Linked DNA regions of Homo sapiens: all the other regions are linked to region 2. Evidence: promoter capture Hi-C in 16 types of primary human blood cells and fetal thymus (Javierre and others, 2016). All regions are on one chromosome and are shown on one strand. The core of a region is centred on a gene start or on the middle of the fragment in contact, and the rest is flanking DNA. Distances in the headings are between cores, read along the strand shown. Region 1 has its middle 63 kb from the start of ABCB5. Region 2 holds the start of POLR1F (RNA polymerase I subunit F). Region 3 has its middle 110 kb from the start of ABCB5. Region 4 overlaps ABCB5 (ATP binding cassette subfamily B member 5). Region 5 has its middle 36 kb from the start of ABCB5. Region 6 overlaps ABCB5 (ATP binding cassette subfamily B member 5). Region 7 has its middle 17 kb from the start of ABCB5.

Region 1 (2,803 bases), core at 96-2,595, 840 kb after region 2:
CATCATATCCCCTGTGACCTGCACATACACATCCAGATGGCCGGTTCCTGCCTTAACTGATGACATTCCACCACAAAAGAAATGAAAATGGCCTGTTCCTGCCTTAACTGATGACATTATCTTGAGAAATTCCTTCTCCTGGCTCTTCCTGGCTCAAAAGCTCCCCTACTGAGCACCTTGTGACCCCCACTCATGCCCACCAGAGAACAACCCCCCTTTGACTATAATTTTCCTTTACCTACCCAAATCTGATAAAACGGCCCTACCCCTATCTCCCTTCGCTGACTCTCTTTTCGGACTCAGCCCGCCTGCACCCAGGTGAAATAAACAGCCTTGTTGCTCACACAAAGCCTGTTTGGTGGTCTCTTCACACGGATGCCAGTGAAAATAGCCACTTCCTTGAACAGAAGACTTGTGGAACAGGAAATTCTACCAGCTTTCAGAAAAAATTGACAATATTTGACTTTGTAAATGCATAAATACAATGTTTAATTAATTCTTTTAATCAAGTTAGAACATTCTAGTCAAACAAACATGACTCTAAAGTGTGACCTAATTACAATGCTACTGAGATGAACATAGCTCTATAAGTGCCAAATATTGAAAATCTCAGTTTCTTATTTATTTGCTTGGATAAAATTTTTATTTCTATTTAAACTTTCAGAATTTCAGTCACTAAAAAACTTATTCATATATAAAATGAAATCTCTTGTGTTACTAAAAAAGAGTATATCTACTGATTACCTCGCAACTATATTATACTACATGTAAGCTATACAACTTTATAAAGCATATATGCCCAGTAAGTATTTATATCTAAGGAATTTTCCATTGCAATTGCTATTGCACTTTAAAATTGCATACATATTTAAAAGCTTTTCTACTAATTCAAAATTTAAAAGGTAATTTTTAAAGAGGTATCTAGGCCCTCCCCTAAAAAAATTGTGTGTGTAATTTATCAGTTTTTAAAAATTTAATAAGAAATTTGTTCTTATATATTTCTGACTTAAATAGATTTTTTCTTGCATTTAAATATCACTTTTTTAAAAAAACTAATAGTTGGGAATTATGCAAACAACATTTATAACCATTTACTACACCTGTGTGGCTATATAAAGAAGTTTTCTATTCATTTTGTGTTATTACATTATATATATTTTTATTAAACTCATTTTGTTGTTAAGAAAAGTACCTTTAGCTAAGTTACAGATAAAGATAGCAATTTAATTGGGCTTGGCAAATAATGAAATATAATGTTCATCCTGTAGATAAGAAATTTTAAATAAAGTAAAACAGCAAAATGTCAAAACCAAACCAAATGGTGATACCTCATTTCTGCATTATATTCCCATAAATAATGTGGGAAAGAGAAGAAATGTAATACAGTACATAAATCTTAATCCTTGGCTCATTCTTAGCTTTATCTTTTAGCATAATTAGGCCAAGTTTTAATTTTTTTAAAAATCTTTCTTAAATTGTATTATCTGCTGATGCTGTTACCAGCAATTCTCTTTCGTGTCAAAATAAAACATACTGTATTGGATAAAGCATCCCAAAGCCATACCACCTCACAACAGCCCAATCTACACCCTTCCTGCCCAACTCATCCAACCACTCACATCTTTAATTGTGATATTTGATCCCCAAGTCAAAGTTATAAAAAGAATGGTCAATTAGAAAAAAAATCTAAATCTCTTTGGGTTAGAGTCTTTGAAAACATGCCAACAGCTACTGGACACTTCTAGTTTTTACACACAATAGAAAACCATTACAGATCCAATAAAAGTCAGAGACATCCTTTATTTTCTGTTGTTTAAAAGCTTTACTGCATCTCTTATGAAGGGAACAGCTACCTTTAACATTAATTTGATGTCTATTTGCATGGAGCAGAATTGAGGGCACTTACTGAGAAGAATGAACCATAAGTGCTACATTCTCTGGTTGTATCACAGGCCAGGCACGGTGGCACAGACCTGTCATCCCAACACTTTGGGAGGCCGAGGTGGGTGGATCACGAGGTCAAGAGATCGAGACCATCCTGGGCAACGTGGTGAAACCCCATCTCTACTAAAAATAGAAAAATTAGCTGGGCGTGGTGGCACGTGCCTGTAGTCCCAGCTACTCTGGGGGCTGAGGCAGGAGAATCGTTTGAACCTGGGAGGCAGAGGTTGTGGTGAGCCAAGATCATGCCACTGCACTCCAGCCTGGTGACAGAGTGAGAATCCGTCTCAAAAAAAAAAAAAAAAAAAAAGCATAAGGAGTAGGAGCTGACTTCACTACAAACTAGAGTAGCTTACAAGCAAACAATATAAATAAAACAAGGTGAGTTCCCTGCTTCCCGAACTGCTTAAGCTGCACTGACCAGTTCTTTTCACCAAAAGTACCTGCCATTTTGAGTAAACTCATGTCAACTATTTGTTTTCTGACTCATAAAAAAAAATAATTTCTAATCTAGATTATTATGCTTCTACTGTGTATTTTTCTACAGATTGAAGATCTTTATATTTTGTTTCCAAAAGTATAATATCATAAATGTTGACAACTTTTCTAGGTCACCATTTAGGGAGGGAAAATACAGTGAAAGATGTTCTACTGCTTTTGGACTCCAAAACAGCTTAAGTTTGTATTAATTCCATCAAAGTATTCATCAGCGTTATGTACCAGAATCTGACAACTTGCTTTTGAATTCCAACTCTAATATGGGAAAGATATCAAAAGAGAGATCTTAACCTTTCCCAGTCTCTTTTACGTCATTCATACATAATACTTAGCTCACACTGTTGTGAGGATGAAATTCAAGATA
Region 2 (2,768 bases), core at 226-2,725:
AGTATCCGTTTGTTTATGCCACTCTCTTTGCCTGGAATGTTACCATGTTAAAGTACCCTCTTCAATCAAGTTGTTCTCAAAGGTCCCAAGATCCAAATTCTACACTCCTTATCTTATTAGATTTCTGTCAAATTTTAACACTTTACTATTTATTGGCTTGTATTTGTATCTCTCCTACAGCTTAAAGCTCCTTGAAACAGAGATTTTATTTTTTGTTTTTGTATCTCAAGTGTTCGGTATGTAATATAAACATACAAGAAGTGTATATTGGTGCTTGGAAGAATCTGCAGATTCTAGACATGGGTGGAGGTCCAGGATCCCTTAAGAAACTGATAAAAACTTCCGATGCAGTGCCCAAGGAACTTCACATAGGAATTCCTGAAGGGCAATCATGAATCCCTAGAGAATCCATTCCCTCTAGTTTTAGAACCCCGCTTTTAAACCAAAGTATAGTCCAGAGGAATACTCAAGCACATGCCCGCGCCCCCCGCCCCACACCTCTGTAATTCTAAGTTTTCAAGTCACTTTTGAATACCGTAATATAAATGCATACGTTTTGGTTTTTTCTCTCCCCAAAGCAACAGGCTCACTAGTTCGACTGAATAAATCTTCTTAAAAACAACAAAATCCCGCTAAACTAATGGCATTTTCATAATCCCCAGATCAGGTCCAAGAGAAGAGAAAATGGGGAAATTACCAGAGCGAAATCCAACAACAAAAAAGGTCCTTCATGTTTTACAAATAGAACGGTTGTACTAATGCTTCGTATGCTATCTTCTATGGAATGAGAATCTACTCAAGCACTGCAAACCAGATTTTTATCGTCAAATGAGAAAGCATCATCCGTAAGGGGATAAATGAAACGTTGAATGCCAAACAGAACTGGGCCTACTAGGTCTCCAGATCCCTGGTCTTTTCCTACCCCTACACCAGGGTTCTGGAGCAAGAATCTCCACTCCCTCCGCCCACACCTGAACTTCATCTTTAAGTTTTCTTCTCTATCTATGAAAGGGACCCTGTATAGATCTTTACCAGAGCGGTACTGGCCTTGAGGGACGGATCGCGACTCTAGAAATCCAGGGGGCTAAGCTCTGGGGGGCAATGCGACCTTTGCCATTTGCCCCTTTCTGCTGCGTCGTCAGCACATCCACCTGCTTTACTTCCCGTGCACAAAAGAAGGAACAGGCAAAGAGATCGGTACCTCTCAGAATAGCGAAGGAGCTCCGCATCAAGCTGTTCTCGAATGCCGGTGCGTTTCCTGTTAAGGTAGCGGGGCGACAGCGCGATGTGCCTTTGGTGCGGCCCGGCCACCAGGCATGAGTAGCGACTGTTCACCAGCGCACAAGCAGCGGCATAAGTCGGCAACTCTAGGCAAGGCAGGACGCCAGCCTGCCCTACCAGAGACCCATCAGAAGCCGCCGCTGGCCGCGGCGCCTCTGAGCAACCTGCAGCCATGCTGCTTGTCAAGGTTCCCACGGCGCGCGCCGTTGACGCAAGCACAATCCCATGTCCCCGGCGCTCGTTTTACGCCATCCACCAACGACCACGCCCCTAGGAATTTCCCCTCTTTTCGCTGCATTACGCAGCCCTGACCAGCAGGGGGAACCGCGTTTTCGCGCTTCGAGAACGGGAGCTTAGAGCCTCGGAAATGCATTGAGCACGCAGGAAAGCCAACCGACTGCTCTTTTAAGGGCAGGCAAATGTGTGTTTTCGCACAGAGGCTTATTGGATTAAGTAGGTAGCTTAAAAATGGGGGTTCTCACTTTGATCATTTCCAGTAGTGAGGTGGGTTTGGTAGAATTTTACAGGCTTGGACTGTACAATAAAAAATCAAAATATTTATGGAGTATATTTTATGCAGTACACGGAATCCTAAGCAGGCCTGATAATTGTAATGCAACGCATCTGAAAACGAACCCACTAGTTCTCTCCTGTCCCGCTTCTCTTCTCATTATGCAACTGCTAAATCAGGGAATCATACAGCCAAGCTGTCAGCCTCGGATCCTCTTTTGTATCCCCAAGTATCAAATCAGCCTGAAGACCTGTATTGCCCAAAGTGGAAATATCATTCTATTTGGACACTATTCTCTTTCCCTGCCGCCAAAACCGCAGGACTCCCTGCCTGTGGAAGCCTAGCTCAATGGTCAGGAGGACACTCTGGGGCAGCCAGATCTTCCCTGAAATACATATGATCGTGTTGTGCCCTGTTTAAGCCCTACATAGGCACCCCATTTTCTCTAGGACAACACAAACTCATGAAAATGGCTTATAAGTTACAAGGCCATTTTGTGATCTGCGTGGGCACACAGCCTCTCTCTTCAGCTTCATTTGTCACACTCCCCACCCTAATATTATCATGCTGCTTGATCTACTTTCAGGTCTCTCTTTGTGCAGTCTCACGCTGTTCCTTCCACCAGGGAATATAATAGCATTTTTCACAAGGGTAAATTCTACTCATGTATGAATTTCTAGCTTAGATTTTACATTCTATACCTTTGCAAAGAGTTTTCAAGCACCCCACTCCTCTTTCTCTATAAGGATTAGGTAGTTACCCATCTATGTTGGTTTTTATGTTAATTTTTTATTAACTGTCTTTGCTTGCCTGTTCCATCAATAGATTCCTACACTCACTAAAGTGGGGACCATAATATCTGTATTGTTCACTACAGTAGCCCCCCACAATTTATCCCTCCTCCAAAGAAACGAAACCAAGAAAAACCCAACCAATACATCTTGAATGAATAACCTGATAGTGAGTTAATAAATAA
Region 3 (2,889 bases), core at 44-2,543, 800 kb after region 2:
ACAGGTGTGAGCCACCACACCTGGTCTCTTTTAGCATCTTAAATTATGGAGAAATGAAAAGGGCACCAAGAAAATAAATAAAAATATGGATTCTGTAAGAAAGGGGTACTGAAGTTTTGGTTTTGTTTTCTTTCTTTTTTTTAATCTTGCAAATAGAAGACCACTATATTAATGCCTGCAAGTTGATGAAAGATAGTGCCCAGTGAATATCTGCCAAAAATTGAAAAGGAATTTGGCTTAATTTGCAACAATAGGATAATGTAGGTTGAATACACCTAAAAAAGAACACCATATCGACTACAACAGTAATTAAGTAGTTCACCTAGGCAAGGCTGTGGCCTTTTTTACCTTCAGGGAAATTTAAATGAGAGTGTCTACTTAGATAAGTCAGGCTTTTACACGTCTCAGGCAATAGGGGAACCAAGTGACCCCATAAAGTCTCTTCCAGCCCTTGGATTGATTATCCATTAAGAGTAAATTTGAAATCACAAACTGAACACCGAAAAATTATAAGCAACTTTTAACTAGAATGCACATTTAGATTTTAATTGAGCCATACTGAAATCATGGTTCTGGCTGATAAAAGTATCTCAAAAAATAAATTTTAAAAAGATTAGTAGAAAACAAATATATATGGGCACATTTAGCCCCAAGCTGCCAGTCCAAGTTGTAATAATAGTATAAAAATTAGTCTGTGGTATAACAAGCAAATGGTTGTAGACAGAACTGGGCAGTATTTTTAGACATAAACCCCAAGAGAATTAATTAAGCTTTGAAAAACATAATTGAACTAGGTATTTTTATAAACATACTAGAACATCTGATGCATACACACGTGAATGTGCAAAATAGCTAATTATATACACTGTTTATAAGTCTGTCTCAGCAATAAAGCAGAGATTCCTCTATTTGTGGCCCAGTGAAAAAATTTGTTGCTTCTTATCCTTTTGTTTTGGTCAACATTTTAATTGTTCAGTAGCACTTATGGCATGAAACACCGAGGGGAAAAATAAAAGCTGTAAAACTCATATTCATTAGATCTCACTTATAATTTTGGACTTGTTTTGCGAACTTCACAAACTATTTATGAACATGATATATAAAATTTTTTTAAGTGTTTCGAAAATGTAAGGGCTTTAACCAAAAGAAACTCCTGAAATATTATTTCCCTTACTTAATAATTTAAAAGTGGCTGAAAAATGAGAAGTGGTCCACATTTTCACTTTCTTATGAGAAGCCAGCCCTTCTCATTTGCTAGACATTCACAACTACATATTCACTTAGACTGAAGGTAGGATATAATTAATTCCTACATTTTTTAATGTATCCATTCCTTCTACTAGACTATGTACTTTTATGAAGAGGACTGTATCTCTATATTCAGTGTCTGGCACATAGTAGGTATTCAATAAAGGCCAAGAGGATATTGAAAAAATGATTGAACACATCCCCTTGGAAATGAAGTACATCAAAATACAAGTATTTTCAGTGCAATTCTCCCTAACACTATTTCTTGAAAGGCCAAATGGTGAATGGGGTAAGATGGGGTCTGGCCTATGCGAAGAATGAGTCATTAAATGGCCTTGCAGATAAGGACAGAAATGCAAGTTTTCAAAGGACTCCTTAGAGCTTCCATCATGAAACAAGGTCACAGGAAGCAAGGGATAATTGATAACATCTAAAACCTAGAACATAGGGTTTTGGGGTAAGATATGAGATAGCGGGTGATATGTTTGGATAAATAGAGTATTAGAAAGAGTTCAGATAGTTCATACTTTAAAGAACTTATTATACAAAACTAAAGAGTGAACAAAGAGAAGCTTAAGGTACAATCAGTATTATTGAGCAACAAAGTGATATAAATCTTATCTTCGTAGGTGGCCCAGAAAACAGATAGTTTTGAAGATTAAAAAAAAAAAGGGAGAGAAAGACCACAGAAAATTGCATTAGTGGAGTTTTCAGACCTGACCCAGTGGAATAAAAATGAGGAGAAAATGTTGAAGTGAGGTTAATGAAATATTTTGTAGTTAAGAGTTGAAAAGATATGATGGCTGGTTAGATACAGAATGAGAGAGAATTTAAGTTTAAAATGAACATTTTTGGTTTGGGAAACTAGATAGGTGGTGATCTGTTAAAAATATGAGAAGTTTAACAGGTGTGATTTTAGGAGAGGACGGAAAAAGGCACTTGGAATGTGGATCTGGAGCCAAAGAGAAGGCTGGGAAAAAAGGACTGGGAAAAAAGACCGAGAAGTCATTAGCATGTGTGGGGTGTAAGTGTGTGTGTGTGTGCGCGTTGGAAGTGGAAGCCATGGAGTGGATGAAACTTGCAGCCCTCCCTTTCTTCAGCTGATTTGTAGGTACAAATATTCTTCTGGAGTAGGTGAGGCATGGGGATATTTGGTGGTAAGAGATGAATCGGAATGGCTTTTTTCCCCAAAGGTCCTCTGCTACCTACTAGATCTGGAGGTACATAACACAATGATGAAGAATTCAGAAAGTCACAATAAGAACAACTAAAGTACATTTAATCACAGCCCTGCCCTTGAAAATACCCACCTGGCAAGCATAATGCTATACTGTGACTTTACAAGAAGTAATCATTCAATCTATCCTTGTAACAGCCAGGAAATGAGTAAGATGTTAAATACAAGTCACATCTTTTGTTAAAAATCTCCTGTATACATAGAACACTACAGAAATATATACCACACCAGAAAAAAGTTCAAAATTATTTTTCTCCCATGCTAGTTTATATGTAGTTTTGATAGTAAGTTAAAAAGGTATATACAACAGTTTTGCATTTTTCATAAACTATGGAAAAGTATTCATGCATTTGTTCATCCAAACAATGTTTATTGAATTTCAATATTTATAAGCAAAATATGGA
Region 4 (2,792 bases), core at 1-2,500, 940 kb after region 2:
GCTGTGTACTTCTTTATGAATGGAACCTATGGACTTGCTTTTTGGTATGGAACCTCCTTGATTCTTAATGGAGAACCTGGATATACCATCGGGACTGTTCTTGCTGTAAGTCTTGTTTGAGAACAAGGTGTCAGGCCTGGATAATCTTTCCTTACCTAGTTTAGCCAAAATTCCTCTTTGAAGATAAATATTCAAAGATGGATGTTTTTATTAAACAAATATTTGTTTCCCTCAAATTATCTGTATACACCTTTAAATTATAGTTATGAATTGACAGCATTTATTCATCCAGCATGTTTTAGTGTCCTCGCTGTGTCAAGCATCTGCATTCCGCTTTTGGAAGAATCATAATTGAATTCCCCACTGGGAAATACACTGAGTTTTGTTAATCTAGCAGTGAAAAAGGCCATTCTCTTGTGAGACTTTTCCTTTCATCTGGGCTGAGATCAGACGGAGTTCTGCATTCACCTTGCTAAATGTCTTCTCTCTGGAAATGGTCTGTAGAGTTTACACTCACCTCCTCTTCCTCTGTCCTTTCAGCATGTAGTAATTTAAAAAACAGACTACATATAGCTCTGTCCAGTATCACAGTTTGGAGACTTTTAAATTCTTATGGGTTATGTGTTAAATAATAATTTATTCAGTTATCCTCTTAAGTTACAATAAACAGATCAGTTCAGGATTAAGAAACATTTGTCTTGAGGAACCAAAATGATCTGCTCTTTATACTTTGATCCTTGTTTGGCCTTTCCATTCTTACAGATTTCTCTTCTTTCCATTAAATTCATCTTTTGAATTTGAGGCATTCATAATTAAGACTTTTAGCTATTCATTTATTTCATATAAAGTGAAATGTGAGCATGAACGATTTTTCACTCATCCTTGCTCCTCAATTTATGTGTGGCTGGGTATCTGGCTTACTAAGCCTAAGCATCCTCATCTATATGATAGGAGTAAGAGCTCCTAGCTTGAGGGATTCTTTTCTTATTTGACTTTTTGCAGAGATGAGTCTGTCTTAAAATGGACAGCTGTCCCCTAATACAAAAATTCAAAAACGGTTTGAGTGAAAACAGTACAATGTCTCTGAGCCAATAAAATCTACTGAATTTTTCTTTTTAAAGTTCAAGGGGTCACCCAACAAGGAGGGGAGTGCAACTCACCATGGGGTTTATACATGGTCAGCACACTTCAGTTAGCAGATTTTTCTGGTCACACATCCCAGCATGTGATAACCACAAGACTATGAGATAATCAAAAGTTGTTCCTTATTAGGAAAAGGCCAAGGATACTTGGATTAATCTGTGTTTCTATTGCTTCTCGGCCTTTTGGCTAAGATCAAGTGTAATCTGTGTTCTTTTTTATTTGGTCATATCTTCCATTCTTTCTTACCTAATTCCTCTAATATCTCTCTGTGAGCCTAAACCAATAATTATATATTACATTCTATTGTCTTTCTTATATAACTGCAGAAAGATAAATATCACTTTGTTTGTTCCTGTAGGTTTTCTTTAGTGTAATCCATAGCAGTTATTGCATTGGAGCAGCAGTCCCTCACTTTGAAACCTTCGCAATAGCCCGAGGAGCTGCCTTTCATATTTTCCAGGTTATTGATAAGGTAAGACCTCTTATTGCTTTGAAGAATAACTATCATTACTGCAAGAAGGAGACAAAAAAACATACACCCTCATTTTCACTAAAACAATAGGATGGACAAATTTAATGTTGGCCAGTTGTTTATGGGAAAGAGAGACTGCCTTTAATTCTTTTCTAAGAGGAGATTGTGTTGTATTGAAACCTTCATGTCTAACTCAATGCACTTCTAAAGCAGAAAGGAAACTGTCATGGAAGAAAACCATCCTTATACTATTTTTAAAATGTAGAGACTGTCAGTTTACTCCTTTGAAGATTTATAACATTTCCTTTGTTTTTCCAAGAAACCCAGTATAGATAACTTTTCCACAGCTGGATATAAACCTGAATCCATAGAAGGAACTGTGGAATTTAAAAATGTTTCTTTCAATTATCCATCAAGACCATCTATCAAGGTAGGTTAAAACAAATTACGCAATTGTGCAGTTTTCTGATATTATCTTCTACTGGCCAAGATCTTCTCTGACATGATTACTTAGGATCACTTTTTTCCAAGATTTTGGCTACTTTGCTTAGAGACTTGAGGAGGTAGATAAATAATGGACAAATAACTCTGGATCAACTAGTTATATTTTGCAGCATTCTTTCTATATTCAACTGACTAAAGCATTTTCAGCTCCGTGAAATTCTTCTACTCTGGGTTTGGGAACACACCTAAATGTCTTGGGTTGACGCTGCCACCTGTTGGTGGTTCCTAGATGCTACCCCACTCAACATACTCATTTTAACCCCCTCCTCTCTAACCTAGGAGAATTATGCACATGTGCCTTTCCCTTCTTCCTTTCCTGGGGCTTTTACTGCAGCAGCAATTGCGGCTAGTACTTTATCGCCTTTACACACACGCACACACACACGCAGTTTATCGTACTCCATCATTCAGTCTTTGACAAGTTCTTGTGAAAATGTGTGTCTTTTTTATTGTCTTCCCCCTTTCACTTCATTAGTGTATTTACCAAAAAAGTAGTTGTTGTTAAAGATTGCACAAGGCGATTACTAATAAAACACTGGCTTCATAGAAAAAGACATGATTTTAAGTGAAATAGATAAAATTACTAGTGTGATCAATTTCTAATGTCTGCTACAGAATTTGTATAAAGACCTACCTACTCCTACTTCCTTATTTTTTTTCTGATTAAAACTTT
Region 5 (2,721 bases), core at 213-2,712, 870 kb after region 2:
CTCCATAGTTCTAATGAGCCCTGCTAAACACACTCAAGTGCCACTTGTCTCCCTGTCGAGGTCTACCTTCTCTGCAGGCCAGAGCTCAGCACAGTGTCAAAGAAAACCTGTTGGTGATTGCCTACTTCTCTCTTGGAATCTCCTGTTCCTTCATTCTAACCTTCGATCACCATGCAGAGATGTAAAATCTGGGCTGCCATGTATACCCTTTCTCATTCAGCTTCTCCCAGGTCTCGCCAAAAATAAATAAATAAATAAACTTACCTGTTCTGTGTTCTTTTTCATCAGTGCCCTCATCTGACCTGGTATTGGTCATCTAGTCTTGCAAACCAGTTGTGCTCTTCAGCTAATAGAAACTCATGGCTTAATTTTTCACCCTTCCAAGAAACAAAAAAAAAAATGTTAATTTTGGGCCAAGCTTAGCACCTTGACACATCCTTGAAATGACTTTAAGTCTTTGATAACACGTGATTTCTTTTTCCCTTTTTTCCTTTGCTGTAGGTATCTTAATAAGTGCGTGTGTATGTGTGTGTGCGTGCATGCGTGCACGTGCATGCATACACACAGAGCATTGCAACCTCCTACACCCATTAACAATAGGTGGTATCTTCTTTAGGAAGGCAACAGTGTCAATCTCAGGTAATTGGAAGAGGGTGGCATGAGATGGGCCTCTCAATAAGAAATCTTGTGACATACCTTAATAAGGGTGTCTTCCCCCAAAATACTTGCATTATCTATGGCTTAGTTCAACCCTAAATACAAATTTATTCATGAGTCCATGCTATGAACATACTTATACATAAGAGATATTTCACAAATGCTGTTTGTTGGGGATGAATATTCACAAATGCTGTTTTGGGGGGATGAATATTTACTATCAGCCCTTGACTTTTTAAAAAATTAAGAAATTAACATAAAAGGATAAAGAGAAGATTTTCAAATGCCTTAGGGCTAGATGTTGTGAGATTCTCTTTCCACAGTATTTTCTTAATGCTGTCTTAATGCCAGATTTCAAAATGAATCATCCAAGAAAACTAAAAAGACCCTGTAACCTATTTTTCAATCAAAGTCAACAGAAGCATAACTTTCCTGAATATTTCATGTATCCACCAAAACAGAAAATGGCTGCAATTTCTCTAAAAGTTAGGCTATTCTCTGAACATATCCCCTCAATCTTTCCCATTTAGAAGTTGTCCACACTAAATATGAGTTCACTCTTTGAGTATGAACTTATAGTTAACATGTTCAAATTGATTGTGCTCACTCTGGTTGCTGGCTTTTCTTAGAAACGTCTTCTATTGACTTGTTTTCTACTTTCAGAGATGTGGCAAATTTCAGGAAGCCTATATTATAAAAATTGAATTGGAATAAAGTGAAAAAATAAATCAGCGACTCAAAGGGTTGTTTCAGCTATTAAACCAGACACTTTAGGTCTTCTGTGCCATTCACCATAAAGTCACCTTCTAAGTTAATCAAGTTGATTAAGAAGTTGATAATGACTAAGCCGTCAGTAAAGTTCATCTTATATTTTCACAAACATCCAAATTTTTCACTTATAAAACAAGAAATAACAGATTATTTTTCTACAAAAAGAGTTACAGAAACAACACAGACATGTCATGAACAAAAGACATTAATGAGATTTCTTTTGTAGAAATTGGCAGCTGGGAGGGAAAAGTGGATAGGAAGGCATGAGCCAATAATAATATTGAACTGCAGTCAACCAGTTAACTAGTTAACCGGGCTTGCAATCTGATATCCTAGGTTGCAAGAATGTTTCTTACAGTATCCCCCCGAAAATCACACATCCTTAAATATTTTCATTTTTAAGGAGATTAAAGCACTTTTTGAATCAATATTCTACAAATCCTAAAATGTGCCATCATTTTGATGACTATAACAGAGTTTCCCTAAGATATATATTGTCTTGCTCTCTGGAAGCCTCTCTCTACCTCAAGATTTCCTTTCTTTTCTTCTTTGAGACCCGTATCATGAGGCTCTGAACAGTCATGCTCCATTCTCTGGGTCAGCCCCAAGCTACTGAGACCTTACCTCTGACAAGAGTTCACATATTGGTAGTGACTTGCACTGCAGCTATTTTTTTTTTTTAATCCTTGACAGGTAATGTATGGGAAATATCTTTGGACTGAAAGTCAGCTGTCTTGAGAGTAATATGCACTACACCACTTATTCACTGTTTGATTCTGGGCAAATCACTGAACTTCACATATCTTCATAAGTGTTTAATGAGAATAACACTTTGCACAAAATCCAGTAAGTAATTATTTAGGGGCCATTAAAACCAGACATGATCTTGGAGGCTGCACTCCTCTAAACGAGACCTTGTCTCTGCCCTTGAGAGGTTCAGGGTTTAGAAGGAGAGACCGGCATTTGAATTGGCAAGGAGAATACGGAGCAATAAGTGCCAAGCAGGGGGAGGCCCCAGTGACCTTCCTGGAAAAATGAACATTTCTCAGCATTACTGATAAAAGATATCCCTGGCACTGAAGCTTGTAGCAAAACAGATACAAAGATACGTCAGTTAACATAAAGTCAAAATGTACGCAAGGCCAAAAAGTAAGATGAAAATGGTTTGATTATGGCTGCTAGAAGGGTATCCTAGATACATAGCTGCATTTGAATCAATAAAAATGTATTCAAAATTGTGTGAGTGTGTGAGTGTTCAGTTTTGGAGCTAGAGTCCTTAACTTTTATAAAATT
Region 6 (2,837 bases), core at 289-2,788, 990 kb after region 2:
AACTTTTTAATACTCGTCATATCTCTTTATGTCTATAATTTTATGTTTTTGTATGAGATTATTTTAACGCATGTACAACCTGTCTCATATTTAAGTAACACAGCCTATTTTATGATTTTACTGAAATTTTTGTTTTGTTTTTATCTTATTTACTTCTTTTCTATCTTGACAACACTATTTAAATGATACCATTTTAAATCTTTTATTGTGTATTTTCCCAGAGGCAAAAGAACATCTTTAAATTACCTATGTAATGTAGATCGTTCTATAGGAGGAAGATAGCCCTCCTAATTTCCTGGCTCTGTAATTTACTGGTGTCCTGGCACATGTTAAACCTTAATCTCCTTACCAAATAAGGTAATTTTGTAATGCACTTAGTTTCATGCTCAGTGCCTGATAGTTAGCGTGCAACTTTTTAAATTTTTGTACATTCTTTTGAACAGTGACCTAGCTGAAATGTTGTGCCCTTTTTGATGATGAGCTTTAGAAAACTTCAGCAGGAAAAATGATGGATACAATCAAATTATTAAGTAATCCAATATAAATGTGGGTTAGCCACCCTGAAAATGGACTTTAAAGGCATCAGAATTTCAAAGTTCTGTTGTCCAAACAACAGTCCGCATTATAGTGGCCACACTGAGAATAGAACGAGAATTATAAACTATTTTATAGTCTTACTTGAAGAATTCTCTGGTTATTAGGTCCATAAATGTCATTATTTTAAGAGTGAATGCCATGAGGAAGTTTTAATGAATGAAATACCAAAGAATTCACTGTCTACTTTCCTACTCAGAATAATTACTCACCACAAAGCTGTTCAGAAGAATTTTTAAGATTCTGAAATACACTACTTATTGCAGACAAGAGCCAAGAGAGATCGTTATCGTATTATTTATCCTCTGACCACTGTGACCACTACCTCCCCTTGTCACCTTCCACGTCTCCTAGGAAGGGCTGGCAGACCCAGAATGACTACTTGCATTGTGCTTTCTCTGTATAAAACCTGAAATTTTGTGTAACATAATCCTTCCTCTGTAATAACATCAGAAACAGCAATGACTGCTAGCATTTATTGGGTGTTTATTGTTTGCAAATACAGTGAGTTGCAAATGTACTGAATAAAGCTTAATTGTATAAACAATCCTACAAGATAGGAACTGATACCACTCCCCTTGGAAAAATGAGGAGACAGTCTTGGTGAGTTTAAATAATGTGCTCGGATATTGCAATATTTTGCTTGTAAATAAGAACTCCAAAACAAGCCAAGGTATTAGGAAAATGTTTTTGTAAATACATCTTGAAACTTTCCAACTTTCAAGTTTGAGATCGTAATGAAACTTTTACCTTCCACATTTTCTTTTCTTAGCTTCTGCCTAGATTTTTTTCTTATCCTGTAGTACAATATTCCATCCAGTTTAACAAGAGTAAAGAAAAATACACCTGCCATTTCTTTTGTGACCCTTAACAATTACATGTGAGTTAACTGTACTTTTTAAATAATAGCAACTGAGTGAAATGCCAAAAAGTGATATTGCACAAATAGTCACTTGTGGCAAATCTTCTTTTATTTTATGCTTTAGGGTCATCGTTAATAATACGGGCAGTGAATTTTTTAAGAAAAATATTTTCTACCCTGCTGTCTGTTATGTTTGATGTTATACATTATAATTCTGTTTATGATGGGCTAACTTCACTAGATTCTGTTATGCACACAAACTGGCATTTTTAACCAACATATTTTATTTTTAGATAAGTCTTCCTGAAGTCTCTCTATTAAAAATTTTAAAGTTAAACAAGCCTGAATGGCCTTTTGTGGTTCTGGGGACATTGGCTTCTGTTCTAAATGGAACTGTTCATCCAGTATTTTCCATCATCTTTGCAAAAATTATAACCGTAAGTAAAATAAATTTGCTAATACTTTCAGCAATTTAAAGAAAGTATGACCTGAGAGAACAAGCTTGTATCAGTCTAAACCACAAGGGGAAAATTGGGACTTTTAGTGGGCCGCCCCTAGTGTGGAGTCCGTGATAGGAAGGTTAATTAATGTTCCCAGGAGATAAGCCAGCATCTCTTGTAAAGTGTGTGGCCGGGCCTTGTTGACTGGGCAATCAGTGAAGAAATTGCTTTGTTTTCTAATTTTTACTCCAGTGCTGGATCAGCATTCCAAAACACTGAAGAAATAAAATAGGCAAATACAACTACTTTCCTTTCAATTAGTGGGTATAGTTGCAATTTCTTTTCTTACCAGCCAGCTCAGGGAGAAGAAATAACAAGAGTCTGGGATTTTGCTAAAGGACTCAGGGCAATTGGTGTGTTTAAGGATCTTACAAGATCCATGCTTACTCTTCAATGTTAACTAAAGTTCTAGCCTGGAACTTCAGTCTCCCTAATTTGCACAGCTATACTTTATCAGTATAAATGCCTGTGTATGTATGTTACTAATTTTTAAGAAAAATTCTGGGGGCACATTAAAAAGCCTCACCTTGCAGGTACTACTTAACTAGAAGACTACTAAGAAACTTGAGTGATCAAAAATTATTCAAAATAATAATTCAAGCAAACTGGTGGTTTCTTGGGAAATATACTGTGATAATAATAGCAGATAGATGACTCATTATTCAGATCTCATATTTACATAGTTTGAGAATTAAAAGCAAGTTATTTTTTATCATAGATAATGTATGCAGATGATAGCATCATGGTGCACTTTTTCCCACAGAAATGTGTGTATAGTTTTATTTTTATGTTGAAATTTATTTTAAGCTGGGTGCAATGGCTCACGCCTGTAATCCCAGCACTTTGGGAGGCGGAGGCAGCCGGATCACTTGAGGTCAAGA
Region 7 (3,074 bases), core at 420-2,919, 890 kb after region 2:
CTCCCACAGTGATGAGAATAGACATGATGGAGAGCATATGAGGACATAAGCCCTTTTACCACAGAATTTACATTCTAGAAGGAGTGACAGATGTTACGCAATTACATAAGTATGAAATATAAATGAAAAGGGATAAATGCTGTGATGCAGAAGCTCCTGGTTCTATGAGAGTGTATTGTAAAGAAACTGATGCACACAGAGAGACAAGTAAGGGGAGAAAAGGGGGAGGAAGAGGGGATGGAGACAGAGAACAACTCAGGCGAGAGCCTGAAGCAGGAGGCGCGTGATGAGTTCAGGGAACTGAAAGAAGAAAATGGCATAGCACCAGGATGCTTGGACCTGTGGCCCTAGATGACCTGGGGGGCCCTTGTCCTGAGAACAATGAAGGGCCATTCACAAGGTTTAAGTCTCCAGATATTTTAATTCCTTCCATTCAGGAGCATGTCTTCCTCAACGAGAGATAGCCATGTCAGGGTAGCCCAGTCATTTTTTTGTGTTCACCTTACTGGTCTTCTGCTATAGTTTGTTACCTGGACACTGTAGCGGCTGTCCACTTTCTGTAGTGTATGTGTTCTCCCTAATACGACTCTTCCTTTCTCCTGGATCTATACACCGCTGACACTTCATCTTCCTAAAGTGCAATTTGCATCACATCACTCTCCTCAGAAACTTTCAGAGGCAAATTCAGGATGGAAGGTAAATTCAAGCACTCCTCTGTTTTTTCTGTTCCTATACCATCTGTCACCCTCACCAGCAGCTCTACTCTTCCCAGAATGAATCTTCTACTTCACCCAAATTGAGTATTTTTTCCCACCATCACACAAATGCTCATGGCATGCCTCCTTCTTGAAATGATCTTGCTTTCTTCCTACCCTAGTCTTAATCATCCATTAGAACAGCACCTGAGTCCCACATCTCTAGAAGCTTCCACAGCCAGTGCAGTTTACATTTATTTCTCTCTCTGGATCTGAGAGCTCTTGTTACCTCTGTTCTTCATATTTGTAAGTGGTCATAAATGAATGCACACTCTTGTGATATTCTGTAACTGTTTAGATAGGTTTATCGTGCTTCTATCAAGGACACAAGTTTTTTCTTATCAGAAGCCACATGTTCTATATTACTCATAGCTCTTAGTTGAAGGGTAAACTTCAGGGAAGAGGACAGCAGTCATTCAAGGATCTACACATAAACACTGTAGAATGAGCCATTCTATTTCATGAGCAACAATGACATCTAGTGGCTGACAGGTTGCATAGCTTCTTCTGACTTTAATAATCGGACAAGGCATTCAGAAAGAGAATATTACAGAATAATTAATGAACCCAAGTTATTCCCACCAACTACACTGCTTATGAAGGTATTTCAAATATGGATTTATGTGTTCTGGCTGCCCAAATGCTTCCCCCATCCTCCTGTGGTCCAACGACCCACAAACTACTGGTAAGAGGTCCCTGCCTGTGCTCCTTGCAAACCGCAACTTCCCTTTCCCGTAGGAAGATCACCAGAAATTTTCATGGAGATTATGCGATTTTCAACTTTCTGCTTCCTGTGAAGATAGAGGTTTATGTGGATAAATATTTATTTTGGAAAGAAAGTATGTAATTGAGTAGGAAACTTGAGATGATAAATATGATAACCAGAGTAGAAACGCACTTGAAAGCCAAATGAGAGAAAGTCAGTGTGGCGTAGAGGAAGTCTGTGGGCTTTGGCTTCTGAGGGACTTGGGATCGGATGCCAGGTCTTCCCATAAAGTCACGTGATCGTTATGACAGACTGACGTCTCTGGGGCGCCATCTTCGCATCCCAAACATTGAAGGCGACATATATACAGCCTACCGGGCAGCTTTGGGGAGGATTCGATACAATCCTATATAGTAAGATTTCGGCCTGGAGTAGGTAGCCCATAAATAATAGCTATTCCTATGGTTTTACATTTTACTGGAAATAATTGTCCTCCTCTTTCCAATTTGATATTTTTTAAAACCAAAAACCTGTTTTTTTATCTGAAATTGTCAATAACTCATTCTGATCTTCATTTAAATTACCTCGTTGCTTCTGATTTCAGATGTTTATGCTGGAAAATAATGAGGTTGAGGAAAATATCTCAAATCTCTGAAAATGACCCAGGAATTCTAATCTGCCATAGACCTCAAAATCTGAATAATAATGAAGGGTGTAGAAGAACTGGAGCAGACTATAATTATTGTTATATATAGCAGTTGAAAAAGTAACCCTTTTAACTCAAGGAACCTGGCTTTGTGGAGGGAGAAAACAGGCCTAGGAATAAATATGTAAACAAATTATCGCAAGAAAATATTGTGAAGTCCTGATTTGTGTGGCCTCCCTGTGGGCAGCACGGGAATCCACAATCACCCTTATAAAATGTTTCCTTAGAAAACATCATCTTGGCCTTCTAAGCTTTACCTGAACCTAAGGTAAAGGAAGAGCTTGTTTCAAAAGTTTACTTTTTTGCTTATTATTTGGAATGTAGCAAACATTTTTCTTATATTAAGTATTATTATATACAATGGTTTATTTCACAGCCAATCCCACAGATTAATGCCAAAGACAGGCTTCAATTACATAACTCCACAAATAGGACTGGTATAGGTAGCAAAAATGGACAGTGATGTTACTTTGGGAATACAGAATAATAGAATTCCTGGGCTGGAAGAAATTTGAGATCTCCATTCTAAATTCTAAGTGAGTAGATAAAAAACACACCTTCTCCCAGTTTCAGCTCTGATGTGGGAGCAAATAATCCTCTCCCCACTTAAGACAAATTCAACCTTCTTCCTCTCCTTCTCAGTATTGTAACAGAAACCACAGGAGGGTGGGGGAAAGATGGACAGGAAACCTGCCTCTAATTCTCACTCTTCCATTGTCGGTGGGCAGGGGGCCATTAGGAGCGTTAGTCATCCCAAAATCTCAAGGGCGAAAACAACCCGGATCTATTTCATGCTCACGTTAATGACCATTGAAGTTTGGCTGCATCTCTATTCTAATAATTCTTCCTTCTGGGATTCAGGCTGAAGAAGTAGCTACTAATAAGGACATGCTATTCTGATGGCAGA

What was found. Contacts are between HindIII fragments. The CHiCAGO score rates a contact against its expected background, and 5 or more counts as called.
Region 1: a contact is called between a fragment that was not itself captured here and the fragment with the promoter of POLR1F in region 2, in 1 of 17 cell types (monocytes). The highest score is 5.0, in monocytes.
Region 3: a fragment that was not itself captured here is called in contact with the fragment with the promoter of POLR1F in region 2 in 1 of 17 cell types (monocytes); the score reaches 9.4 in monocytes.
Region 4: a fragment that was not itself captured here is called in contact with the fragment with the promoter of POLR1F in region 2 in 6 of 17 cell types (M2 macrophages, M0 macrophages, M1 macrophages and 3 more); the score reaches 20.6 in M2 macrophages.
Region 5: a fragment that was not itself captured here is called in contact with the fragment with the promoter of POLR1F in region 2 in 9 of 17 cell types (naive CD4 T cells, total CD4 T cells, activated CD4 T cells and 6 more); the score reaches 9.1 in naive CD4 T cells.
Region 6: a contact is called between a fragment that was not itself captured here and the fragment with the promoter of POLR1F in region 2, in 1 of 17 cell types (megakaryocytes). The highest score is 5.7, in megakaryocytes.
Region 7: a contact is called between a fragment that was not itself captured here and the fragment with the promoter of POLR1F in region 2, in 17 of 17 cell types (naive CD8 T cells, total B cells, non-activated CD4 T cells and 14 more). The highest score is 103.7, in naive CD8 T cells.

What each region holds. Positions count from the first base shown.
Region 1 is chr7:20,551,315-20,554,117 of GRCh38, forward strand. No RefSeq gene overlaps it. Among named protein-coding and RNA genes, the nearest start is that of ABCB5, 63 kb to the right of the region's middle. The HindIII fragment of the contact is 945 bases long and covers 874-1,818 here.
Region 2 is chr7:19,707,562-19,710,329 of GRCh38, forward strand. It overlaps POLR1F (RNA polymerase I subunit F), which reads right to left and starts at 1,476. Exons shown (of 4, transcript NM_001002926.2): 1 at 1,202-1,476. The coding sequence starts at 1,455. RefSeq lists enhancers at 600-1,204, 1,169-1,238, 1,205-1,807, 1,349-1,628. The HindIII fragment of the contact is 8,345 bases long and covers 1-2,768 here.
Region 3 is chr7:20,504,772-20,507,660 of GRCh38, forward strand. No RefSeq gene overlaps it. Among named protein-coding and RNA genes, the nearest start is that of ABCB5, 110 kb to the right of the region's middle. The HindIII fragment of the contact is 1,050 bases long and covers 769-1,818 here.
Region 4 is chr7:20,646,034-20,648,825 of GRCh38, forward strand. ABCB5 (ATP binding cassette subfamily B member 5) reads left to right here. Exons shown (of 28, transcript NM_001163941.2): 9 at 1-105; 10 at 1,502-1,615; 11 at 1,935-2,045. Among named protein-coding and RNA genes, the nearest start is that of ABCB5, 32 kb to the left of the region's middle. The HindIII fragment of the contact is 8,939 bases long and covers 1-2,792 here.
Region 5 is chr7:20,578,517-20,581,237 of GRCh38, forward strand. No RefSeq gene overlaps it. Among named protein-coding and RNA genes, the nearest start is that of ABCB5, 36 kb to the right of the region's middle. The HindIII fragment of the contact is 2,092 bases long and covers 417-2,508 here.
Region 6 is chr7:20,696,658-20,699,494 of GRCh38, forward strand. ABCB5 (ATP binding cassette subfamily B member 5) reads left to right here. Exons shown (of 28, transcript NM_001163941.2): 17 at 1,750-1,893. Among named protein-coding and RNA genes, the nearest start is that of ABCB5, 82 kb to the left of the region's middle. The HindIII fragment of the contact is 833 bases long and covers 1,123-1,955 here.
Region 7 is chr7:20,597,491-20,600,564 of GRCh38, forward strand. No RefSeq gene overlaps it. Among named protein-coding and RNA genes, the nearest start is that of ABCB5, 17 kb to the right of the region's middle. The HindIII fragment of the contact is 1,494 bases long and covers 923-2,416 here.